Regions from separate parts of the Homo sapiens genome. Here region 1 is linked to region 2. Evidence: promoter capture Hi-C in human tissues and cell types (Jung and others, 2019). All regions are on one chromosome and are shown on one strand. Each heading gives the region's core, a stretch centred on a gene start or on the middle of the fragment in contact. The rest is flanking DNA. Distances are from core to core; before and after follow the strand shown.

The links. The method cuts DNA at HindIII sites, captures the fragments that hold promoters and counts their contacts. A contact is called where the count stands out against the background at its distance.
Region 1: the fragment with the promoter of HOXA13 here is called in contact with a fragment that was not itself captured in region 2 in 1 of the 25 tissues and cell types used here (dorsolateral prefrontal cortex).

The regions. Positions count from the first base shown.
Region 1 is chr7:27,198,793-27,204,495 of GRCh38, forward strand. HOXA13 (homeobox A13) reads right to left here and starts at 1,299. Exons shown (of 2, transcript NM_000522.5): 1 at 364-1,299. The coding sequence starts at 1,285. It overlaps HOTTIP (HOXA distal transcript antisense RNA), which reads left to right and starts at 1,629. Exons shown (of 3, transcript NR_037843.3): 1 at 1,629-1,729; 2 at 1,831-3,846. RefSeq lists enhancers at 3,646-4,170, 5,665-5,703. The HindIII fragment of the contact is 6,019 bases long and covers 1-1,952 here.
Region 2 is chr7:27,938,913-27,944,969 of GRCh38, forward strand. The region is part of intron 2 of JAZF1 (JAZF zinc finger 1); the gene reads right to left. Among named protein-coding and RNA genes, the nearest start is that of TAX1BP1-AS1, 200 kb to the left of the region's middle. The HindIII fragment of the contact is 7,818 bases long and covers 1-6,057 here.

The sequences.
Region 1 (5,703 bases), core at 49-2,548, 740 kb before region 2:
AAGCTTCTACACTGAAGCCATTTTTGAGAGAATGAATAGGGAGGGGCAATTTGGGGAGCTGTTTTCTGGTCAATTTCTCATCCTTAAATTGGTGTCAGGGGCTGGGGAGGGCGGGGCGCAGAGGGAGAGGGAAGCTAGCCGAGGTCTCCACAAGCCACCCCTCACCCAGGGAGAGCCAGGGACCAGCTCAACTCGAGGCAGTGCAGGCAGACCCAGCCAGCCATGCTCGGGCTCCCAGGGGTGCAGAGCCGCTAGGGCAGACCAGGAAGAGAACAGAAACGCACCCGGGATCGCCCGGGTGCGAGCGGAGAAGAAGCTGGAGCAGAGCCGGAAGACCAGGGCTGGGAATAGGTCGTCATTTACCGGGCAGAGTGGACTTCCAGAGGTGGGGAGGCTGCGCCTGCTCTTTGGGGCAGTACATTTGGCCGTTCCAGCCGTTGGGCAGCGCCCAGGGCTGGTAGCTTTCCATGGGAAGACCCAAGGGTTCGTGGCGCGACTCGCCGGGGCCCCCGAGGCCCGGCACCACTGGCATATCCAGGTAGCCAGGCATGGGCTGATGGTGGTGGTAAGGCCCGGCTGCGTAGCCCTGGTGGTAGAAGGCGAACTCCTTAGCGCGGGAGCTGAACTCCTCGGCAGCTGGGCCGGCGGTATCCATGTACTTGTCCGCGAAGGCGGCGGCGGCGGCGGCCGAGGCGGGCTGCGCGCACGACTTGATGGCGTTGGGGTGCGGGCCCATGCGGGCGCACGGGTAGTAGCCGCTGCCGAAGTAGCCATAGGGCAGCGCCGCGGGCCCCGACGAGCTCTGCGCCGCTGCCGAGCAGGGGCTGCATTGCTTGGCGGCCTCTGCGCCCGCCGGGCCCGCCGGGCCGGGACCTCCCGAGGACGACGCGGCGGCGGCGGCGGCGGCTGCAGCGGCAGCCGCGGCAGCAGCGGCGGCAGCCGACGGGGGCGCCTCCCCGGGGGCGCTGCTGTAGGCGGACGCGGCTCCTGGCGCCAAGGGCGCCGGGTGCGCCATCAGGTTGCGGCACTGGTTGGCCGCGGCCGCCGCCGCAGCCGCGGCCGCCGCCGCCACCGAGAAGTTGCCCCCTGCCGCCGCAGCCGCCGGGTGGGGGAAGCCCCCGCCCCCGGCCCCGGCAGCCGCCGCCGCTGCAGCCGCTGCTGCAGCCGCCGCCGCCCCTTCCATGTTCTTGTTGAGCTCGTCGGCCACCAGGCCGCCGCCGTTGTCGTAGAGAAACATGACGGTGGGCTCGATCCAGCGGGGGTGGAGGAGCACGGAGGCTGTCATAGCCCGAGCCGCATGGAGAAGACCCCAGTGGCGCTGTTTTAAAAAGCCCCCAAGAAGTGAAGAGCGCGCGGCGCGGGGCCGGGGCCCGAGCGAGGGGGGCGGATCGCGCCCCGCGGGGTCGCGCCAGGCGGCCGCCCATTGGCCCGGCCCCCCCGCTCCGCCCACGGCGTATGCAAAGCGGGCGGCTCCGACTCCAGCTCTGCACGGTGCACCCGTCGTCCCCGCCGCGGCCCGCGCCGTCCCCAGCGCCAGCCGCGCGGCCGCGCACCATTCACCCGGGGGAGAGGCGGAGGAACGTGCGGGTGGGGCAGGGAAGGAAGGCGGCCCCATCTCCGCCCCCCTTCCCTTCCTTTATCCCAGTGGGGCCCAGACCCGCGCAACCAGGCGGGGAGGGGAGGTGGGCGCGCGATTGGGTTGCGATCTGGAGCAGTGGGGACAGGTCAGGTAATTCTGCCGGCGGTCAGGGATGGGAGAGTGGGGAGGACGGGACCAGCCTAGCTCAGAATGGGTGTTTCTTGGAGCCTCTGGGACTGTTTTCTTTCCAGGAACCGGCGCGTATTTCTGCAGTGAGACCACAGGACGGACATCGGCGCCTTCGGCTTCGATGGAGTTGCGATTTTGCTCTTTCCAGGGAAACAGTGGCAGGGTGTTTGCTGCTTATCGGTTCCTGCGGATATGCCTGGGTCCCAGGACATTCCACTGGAGGCTTGGACTGCATTTAGGAGCCCCTATCCCTTCCCTGTCCACACTGTTAGTGAGCAATTTCATATGTTTGCATTTAGACCCATAGACTCAGAACGACTCATCACACACACACACAGTGTACACTGACACACTCACATTCGCACACTTAGGTATACAGCCTGATCCTTGCTCTGACCTGGTAACAACGCTTCCTCCTCCAGAGACTTTGAGATAGAGCGAGCGATCCCTGTGCACCATTCATCCATGCTCCCACCTCGCCAGTATGGCTGGCTTAGTTCTGGAAGGGGCTTAAGAGGAACAAGCCCCAGCTGTGCTTCTGGCTGGGACTTAAACCCCCCTTCTGGGCCCTAAAGCCACGCTTCTTTGTGGACCGGACCTGACTCTCCAGGAATCTGGGAACCCGCTATTTCACTCTATTTTGGGACAAGAAAAAGGGGCTCTTTGGGGCCACTTCCTGCCTTCCCCTCAAGTAGGATCTCCAGCCTGCAGAGGGTGCCTAGTCCTTCTTTGCCCAAGAACCAGTCCAAGAAGCCTTTCCTCTGTGCCTGGGAAATGCAACCTTTTCTTGGGAGCATGGTAGGGTGTTGGTGCTGAAGAACCAAGCAGCGACCCGTCTTGTAGCTGCCATGTTTTGTCGAGGGGTTCTGGGGGTCCTGCTGCTTTAGAGCCACATACTTCCACTTCCTGATTCACTACTGTGAGCTGGTCAGATGCCTAGAAGAGGAACAAGCGTTCAAAGTGAAAGTGGGCACATTACCGGAATAGTGCTGGGGAGAGTGCTGGATTCTTTTCCACCCCAGGCGGACTGGTGAGAAGCCAGGCTTGGACCTGTCCTCTGCTCCTAGCTTGCACACTCAGCCCTAAACTCAGAGCAGCACGCATACCACCCCTCACACACACCCCACCATCTGCTGTCTAAGGCCCCTGGGCTTCCTGCAGGATCCAGACCAATGTGGCTGGGCTTGGGCTTTTATCTGTCCTGATCCTGGATTTGTCCTGACCAATGTAAGTGTCGCCCAATAAAACCTTCTATGACCCCCACACCAGCCACCCCCCCACCAAGTGTGCCCTTTCCTTCTTGACTTTTTAGCAGTTCTGGGTAAATATTGATTTGCCCCCAGTTTACCTTCTCCCTGACTGGCCATTTGCAGACTCAGGAACTAGCCTCTGTAGGGACTTGATTTTTCTGTTACTTTCTGGCCGTTTCACCACCCCCCTTCCTCCCTCCAAGTGGCATTGTAAAACTCACAGTGACAAAGAGACAGAGTAGGGTTCTAGGCCCCTGTTCCTGGGGACTTGAAGGCGGTTTTACATACTGGTCAGACACGGCTGGAGGCCAAGGTCAAGTTGAAAGTTGCAGTCCAGCCAGCATGAGAACTGCCATGCGAGCGTAGAGACACAGGCAGCAGCAAAAGGCCCATTGCCCACATCCCCTCACTCTTAATTTTCTCTCTCTTTTTAAAATTCTCGCCTCTGACTCTGTTCGGCTGCCCAGAATTTTTTGGTGCCTTCGTGGGGTTTTTGGGGCGGTGTTTACCGACTCTTCTCTGCCTCCGCCCTGCTCAGCCAGGGCTTTGAGCCTCTTCGGTTTTCCGGCCAGACCCGGAAAAACGAAAACACAGCTTGGGGAGCCCCCACTAGCCGGCGCCTGTGCCAGCTCACCTCTGGCCATGGCGCAGCTGCCGGTGCACACGGCGGCCAAGGCCAGCTCCACATTCTTCCCTCCCCCTCCCACTTCACCGTAGCCCCGAACCCTGCGCGCAGAGAAAGGGTCTCAGCTCCACAGACGACTGGGTCCCTCCTCACCAAAAATGGTGAGACAAGATTTCATCTGTCGGCCGAGGAGCCACAAGCAGGTTTGTCTGAGAGGGATGGTGCTGGGGGAAGGCTTTGGATTGCATCTCAAATTAAGCTTTGCTCCTTAAATGTGGCGCTCTCGCCAAGAAAAAGCTTGGGGACTGAATTCTTGAGATTTATGGTGCACCTTATTGATCAAATTTATCTGGACTTTTTTTAGTTCCCCGATGTGTCCCTATCATTAAAAAAAAAAAAAAAAAAAAAAAACCCCTCTCAAGACATGCTTATTTAGAGGAAGGCACCCTGCTTGTTCTCTTCTTGTCTTGGATCTCAACATGTATCTTATTTTTCTACCAGACATGTCCATGGCGTCCTGGCATGCCCCACTGTTTTCAAATGTCTGCATGTCCTGTCAGTATTGAGTTGTAGCCACCAATCAGTGGAGGTCGTTTATAGAAGGAGAACGAGCTCTGAATAATTTGGGTCTGAGTTTCAGAATTTCTACTCACTTTTAAGCAAGAATAATCTTCCTTCCCTGTCTTCTGCTAAGGGAGATAAGATATTTATTAATGTTTCCCAATATGATTTCTTTCCCTGCCAGGCAGCCAACAAACTGACTTGCTGTGGCAAAAGAAAGTTTGGAGGACGATTGAGACGGGTGTGCTCTGGGAAGCAAGCACAGACCCTCCTAGCATTTTTCCTCTTTTCCCAACGGCAAGGTCAAGATTTGCTTGCCTGCCAAGGTAGTGGGTCCTGATCTTCTGAGCTGTCTGTCCCTCTGATTTTTTGTTCTCCAGGCTCAGGAATTCCTATAGGATTGCAGAGGCACCTTCAACCTGATAATTTTATATTCTCAGGCTCCTCCTGGGTTAGACTGGGGAAGCCAGGGCACCCACTAGGATCGGCCGGCAGCGGTGGCACCTTAGGCATGACAGCCAAGCAGAGGGCTGCATGAGTAGAGGTGGGAGAGGTGGGAGAGGCTGCAGTCACTTCCCAGGTACTGTCTGGTGCACTGATTTCCCCGGAGGAGCCCTGAGAGGGCAGTGCAGGCAGGACCGGAGGGTAGTTTCTGCAGCACGGCCTTTATTTCAGGAATCACCAGAGCCTTTCTCAGTGTTCCAAAATGCCTTGGCTGACAAGGCTTCTTACTTCCTGGGGTAGGCCAGGGTGCCCTGCAGGGACTGGTTGCCCAAAAACCTCTCACTGAAGAAAAAAACCGCAGCTAGGTTTTTCTGGGTGGGGAACTGGATGCCAGCCTGGTCCACGCGGCTCTGGGCTCCCAGCATTGGAGAAGAAAAGGAAAAAGGGAAACCAGGTTTTAATCGAGCTTGATTTTCATTAGCAAATGAAATTTACCTGCTCTCACTTTAACTCTGAGGAGGCTGTCAGCACTGCTCCCTGGCACTATTTCTTTGCATCCATCCAGCACTAGGATAAACATTCCTTGGTTGATTCTAAAGACACTTTGTATTTCAGGATATTCATGTGCTTTTAATGTATCCAAGCAGCTTTACAAGCCACTTTTGCAGAACATCTTAACCCTCTCTCTCCCACCCTAGGTGGGCTGGGGCACAGAGATAATGGCAAAGGAAGAAAGATCCAGAGGAAAAACTGGTTGAGGGGCTGAGGAGAGAGAAAGAGAAAAGACGAAATCGTCAAACAGTGTAGCACCTCTGAAGCCAAACTTGAGCAGATCATTTGGGAAAGGAGCAAGTGGGGGACTGCTCTGCTTATGGAGGGAATTTTGAGTGTCCCCATCAGGTAGAAGCTGTACCCTCTTTCTTAAGGGGAAAGGGTTGGTAGGTCCTGAGATCTGGGCTGAAGTTGGCCAGCGGACAGGGAAATGGTGCATCGAGTCACTCACTCAACCTTTTGTTCCAGATTTTTGTGCATTTGAAACAATAATAAGGCAGTAA
Region 2 (6,057 bases), core at 2,135-4,634:
TTACAAATGTGAGCCACCATGGCTGGCCATAATGATTCTGTTTTAAAGAACTGAAAATACTGATTTCTGCCCCCTTCAGGGAGAATGGCTCTCACTTGTTTCCATGACTGATGCCGCTTTTGCCACCATCACTGTTTAGCAAGAAATCTGAAGCTTGGGCCATTTCTCTAAAACACCTTGTGTTGCAGAGCCAAGTAGCAGCTGGCCATGAGGTCTACGGAGCACAGAGCAAACCTTCCTGCTTCAAAATGATATGGTTAGAGGCTCATTACTTGGAGCTTTAGGAATGGTTTTGTTATCAGGAATTCTCTGCTTAAAATATCAAAACTCCTGGGAGAAAAAACCTTTAGTTATCTCACAGCTCAGCAAAGATGAACTGATAGTCAGCTAAGCTAAAATAGGTGGAAATCACAGCTGGGGGTGGGAAGGACTGAGTAGCAGGCTGAGAAGCAGCACTGTGGCAGGGGAGGCAACAGGACAGGAGGGAGGCCTTGCTTCCTTTGCAGGGTGTGGTTCCCAGGTCCTGCCATACCCCCAATACTCTGAGGGCCCCAAGCCAGTTTTAGAGGCCCCTGGATCTGGAGAGAAGGGGATGAGCTGTGTGTCCCTGGGGTGAGATGGCCCCTGTGCCCTGTCCCACCTGCCAGTTATCCATGGCCTCAGGCTTTTTTCCTTCTCCATGCCCCTTGGATGGCAACTTCAGCAATGAGCCAGTGTAGGGAAGAAATGGCTGTGGCCTCCTAGAGGGGGAAGACCCTGTATGTAAGGCCACAAGCCAAATGCGACCTTGCCATCAGCAACCCTAATGTGTTGCTTTTCTTGGGCACTCGCAATAGGGAGACTGGTTTTATAACACACTCACTCATGGTCTGTCTCTCCACTTCATGAGAAACCCCTTCAGAATTCAGATGGTTTTCACTCCTCGGTTCTCATCACGGGGTCTACACATGATGTTTATTGGGATGAACACATTGGAATCTGGGGCTCTGCTTTCCTCTTTGCATGTAAGTGACCCTGCCGCTTGCTAACAGTGGTTGAAAACCATTCCACGGCTGCCGTGGCCAGTGAGGAGGGTTCTGAGGACTGAGGCAGGCAGCAGGGCCAGACTGCAGGTGTTGGCCAGGAGCCCCGGCACAGCAGTGAGCAGCTCCCTGTCTTCTGGGAAGAAGAAACCCGGCTCCTGCCTGCTGCCCTCCTCTCACCTGCTCCCTACAGAGTGCTGCGCCAGCCCTGAGCATGCCCCCGGTACCATTCTCAGTGAGCCTGGAACACAAAGGCCTCTTCATGTTTAGTTTTGAGATAAGTTTCTTGGAAAGGCTGGTGAAGAAGGTGACACCTTTCTGCTCTCCTATCTTTCACAGGGCCGGGTCACGGCGGTGTGGTGGTGGGGGGTGCTCTCCCCGCCACCCCCCGTGATCAGCCTTACCCTGGCTCCTCCTGACTCTAGCTCCTTCATGCACCCTGTGACCCAGACTCACCTCACAGTCCTTCTGCCTCAGTGTAATGCATCTTATTCTACAGCCTGCATTTCCAATACACAGCACACACACATGCCCAGATGCCGTCTCAGCAGTCAGCCCGCATGGTTTCACAGAGAACGACTACAGGCACAATTAGGCATTGAACAAAAGCTCTCTGATGATGCTGCTGATTTGGCTGAAATCCCTCAAGTCTGATGACAGCACTGAGATGCCAACCAGTCCACGAGAACGACTGACTGCTGCATCTTGGGTGGGTGGCGTACTTGGGTGGAGGCGGCCTGGGTCTTGGGTCTCCGATCAGAAGGGGTTTACACCAGCGCAGCAGCCCTTAAAATTAATTTTCCATTAAAATCTAAGCCTCTCAGTCCAATAAACAAACTGCACATTTACTGTGGATTCTGTATCTGAACTTTTACACTGGTTTTGTCAACAAAATTTACTGTATTCATAAATACTAATGTTCTCACTTGGTTCCCTATCTTTAGTATACTGTAAATTATAAGCAAGTACATAAATGTCTTGGCCTGGTAATATAGTGGCCTGAAATGACTTCCTTTTTCCTTTAAAGATGTTGCATGTTTTAATGGTAGGTGTTTTTAATTAACTTGAAGTGCCATAAACTGCCCATGTATGAACAAAGACAAGTGAGTTGCATTAAATTAAAAGTGCAGTATCTGACTAATGTTAACAAATTAGGCACGCCTTCAAGATGCACAATTTCTGTTTGGAGTTGTCATTTTACTAATGCAGAGATACCAAAGCTCCTAGAATAGCTGCACCAAATGAGCCTTTCGAAATTAATATTTTTGGCAATCAATTAGGAATAAGATTTCAAGCTTTAAAAAGATTCCCACTCAGGCATCTCAACATAGCATCCCTTCCCTTTTTCCTTCATAAATGAGCTCAATTTGGGGATGTGATCTTTTTGCCAATATCAGTGCAAATTAGCACTGTAAATATTAAAATCAAATGTTACTACTTCGCCTAATTTTCTTTCAGCCTGCAGTTAATCTTTATTCAGCCTTAATGAGTATTTATTGTGTGACCCTGACAGCTTGCTACTGCTGTGATAAATTATCTGACTCAAGTCCGATTAAAAATGCAACCCTGAGTGCTAATTATCTCAACAGACCTGCTTAATAATAGCATTTCTTGTCAATTATGGAATCTCAGCATGGGTGTCAATAGCAACAAATGCACAGGCCTACCTTGGATGCTGACTTCCCATAAGCCCTTTTACTTGCCATATGTAAATCAGAGTGCTTCTGTACCTGTGATGACCTTTTATTAGCAAACTGTCAAAATGATAAAACTAGCCGTAGCAAAACCCTCACCACCATACAATTAGGGGCTACAGCTTAGGACAACAGGAGGGCAATCAGACACAGCTAATTATGATGCATCTTACTTGTGGCCTGTCCAGCAGGAAGAATGAGCTGTTTTGAAATTTATGCCAGCTTCAGCACGGCCCACAGGAGGGAAGCTGCTGGAAAGTGGGGTAAGGGGGAGGGGACAGGCAAGGAACTGCATATTTCTACAGTTTTTCCGGGAATCTGGAATCAGATCCGAGTTCAAATTTCAGCTCACTTATTTGCTGTGTGACGTTGAATAAATCACTTCATCAGAAAAATGGAGGCAACACCATTTCACCTCACTGGGGGCTGGGTGAGTGAGGGGAATGGAAGGTAACAAATGTAGAAACACCTAGCAGAGTGCTATCACATAGAAGGTGCTGAGCATCTGTTTACTTTCTTCCCATTTGCCTTTTCCTTTCCTAATGATCAAGATAACAGATAACAACAGCTAGAAGTACCATTTATGGAGCTCTTGCATGCACCTTGCACAATGTCTTATGCGCAGCCTTCCTCCTTCACCCCTGTGGTCAGAACTGATGAGAACACAGCAGAGCTGAAAGCTACCCTACCCAGATCATTTAGTGCAGTCTCCCCTTTGTAGGTACAAATGTCTTAAAGAATTCAAAAGCAAAGACGACTCTCTTCTCAAAGGGTTACCTGAGTCAAACATTTTGCAACCTGCCTTGGTAATAGCAAATGGAGTAGCATTTATTTAACTGAGCATTTACTACGTGCCAGTCACCATGGGGAGTGCTTCACTTTGTTTAATCCACACAGCATCCCTATGAGGTGGCTACTCTTAGCATATTCCCTCTGGAGATGAGGAAAGAAGAGAAGAAAGGTTAAACGACTTGTGCAACATCCACAACTTGTAAGTTTCAGAGCCCAGGCCTGAGTTGAGAGCCAAAACACCCACTTCTCAAAACAGAGGGGACACCACAATACGTTTTAATTACCTCCACAATGCTTTTAGTAGAAAAGGACAGGGTGATACCGGCCTGAAAATGTTCCCCACACCGTTATGTGGCACTCTAATTATAAGGAACAATCAACAATAAGTGCCTTTTTGGCTCTCTGCTGTGACAAACTGCAAAGGCAGCAGGGCAGGAGGCAGGTCTGAAACATAAGCCTTGGCCTTTGCATGGGGCAAGGGGTGCTGGGAGTGAAGTAAGATGAGGCGCTATTTGGTCACATGACCTCAAGCGTGATCAGCCTTGAGTGGTAATTTATGGGGCACAAACCTCCTCTGGCTTAATCCAGAGAGGCTTCTTTTTCATGACGAAACAAATTCTGTCACATCGATGCGTTCCTGCCTCACCTGCCTGCCCTTCCTAGGCCAACCTGACAAGAACCCGGAATACAGCAGGGTTCTGAGCATAACTGGAGGCAACATCCTCAGATACAGTTCTGAATTTTCCCAGAATAGAAGGGGACTGTCTCAAGTGAACCCCTATTAAAACACAGATGTTCACATCCCCTACATCCGGACTGCCTGGCCTATGCAGACAGAACAGGGAATCCATCCTGTTCTGTAAGGAGCCAAATAGCATTTCCCTGGTGGCCACACCCAGGTTGTGATAAGGCTCAGGGTCGTGGGAAACAATGCAGAGGAAAGGAGGGTAGTGTAGACGCCTCCGCTGCTAGCTGGAGGCCGCGCACTGGATGGCTAATGAGGCCCAGATGCGGGTCTCTCACAGACTGATCCGGGGAGATGTGAGAAAGGAATGCGATCATTTCCGTCTGAAATAACGTGCTCCCTCTTCCCCGACACCTCGGGCCCACTTCATTACTTCCTCCACAGATGATCTCAAATTAGGAAGCCAATCCTTCCCCTCGATATGATGCCAAGTTAGTGCCACGAGGGTGTAAATCAAGTGTTTCATAAACACTGTGTGGGCTAATTTCTTTCCAGGGGTACTCAAGTCAGTCATCTCCCTCTCATGAGCATTCGCTGCTTTCCCATAAAGTGAGCATGCCTGTGCTTTCTTTGATGAGTGATGCTAATTGTCATTTGGGGTGAGCTACAAAGCTCTTTCTCTAGAGCATTAGCTGAAAGTTAATGCATTCCACAGAGATATCTGGGGGCCCAGTTTTCAACATCCTGATGCTTCTCATCACCTTATTCTGTCAAGGTAAACCCAGATTTCAGCTGGGAATAAAGCCTTGTGGGTTTAAGTCTGTCTCCTGATTTTCATACTTTCTTTGATTCCTATGACACAAAGCAATGTTGATAGGAAATTATTTTGTACCACACTTCCCTCCTTGGCGTGTCCTTCAACAGCCATTCAAATTCCACCTAAGTTTCACAGGAACTATGGAAACATATCCTCTACAGATGGGCTTAGCATGAAAGTTATTGCCCCACTGTGCAGAGCCCAGTGGTCTGACATTATTTACCTCCCTCTGAACACTACTACAAAAGGAACTACATCTTGCCGAACCCTTTAGCAACAAGGAACATAATACATGTGCCCAGTGTGCTGTTAGATGCATATCTGTAGTCTCTGTATTTCAAATTGTTCTATGCATGAGTCCAGTGCAAGAAAAAGTGTGGCTCAAAGGCTGTGTCTACAGCGCATAAGGTTTTAATGGCCTTCGCTTGCTTGCAGACCAATCCCTTAATTTTCCGGTTATCCAACCATTTGCCATTTGGCTTCCTATTTTGAAGAATATGCTTGTTGACACATTTTACTGAAAAATCAAGTAACCTGAAATACAAACTGTGACTTTAGTGGTAGATTATTTGTTTTGTAGGTGGGTGCCCAATTTGAGCAGCTATTATCTACTTTTTTCATTTTATAATGTTGACCAAATCTTAAAAAAAATTTTATTTCAGTCTGGGTCTCAGGCCAACAAAATAGTCCCTTGAACTTGACTGAAACATATGGATGTGAGATTTCATTTATTGTTTTTGGTAAAGTCATGTTCCTCCAGAAATTGTGCAGGGGTCACATGAGAATCTTGGGTGCTGCCACTTGCCTGAAGCTGTTTCCACTAGCAACGATCTTCCTAAAAACACATGTCAGCAGTTAGCAATCCAGGAGTATGACTGAAGCCAGCCCTAGGGAGCTTCATTTCTATTTTGGAGACTCACTGGCCTTCCAAGGGACAGAAAAAAAAAATTGGATCATTTGGCTTTGCAGGAAACCCCTTGCCTAATTTCTATTTCTCTAAGCCACACCCTTTCCGGAACGCTGTCATCTGCTACGGTGTGACTGGTA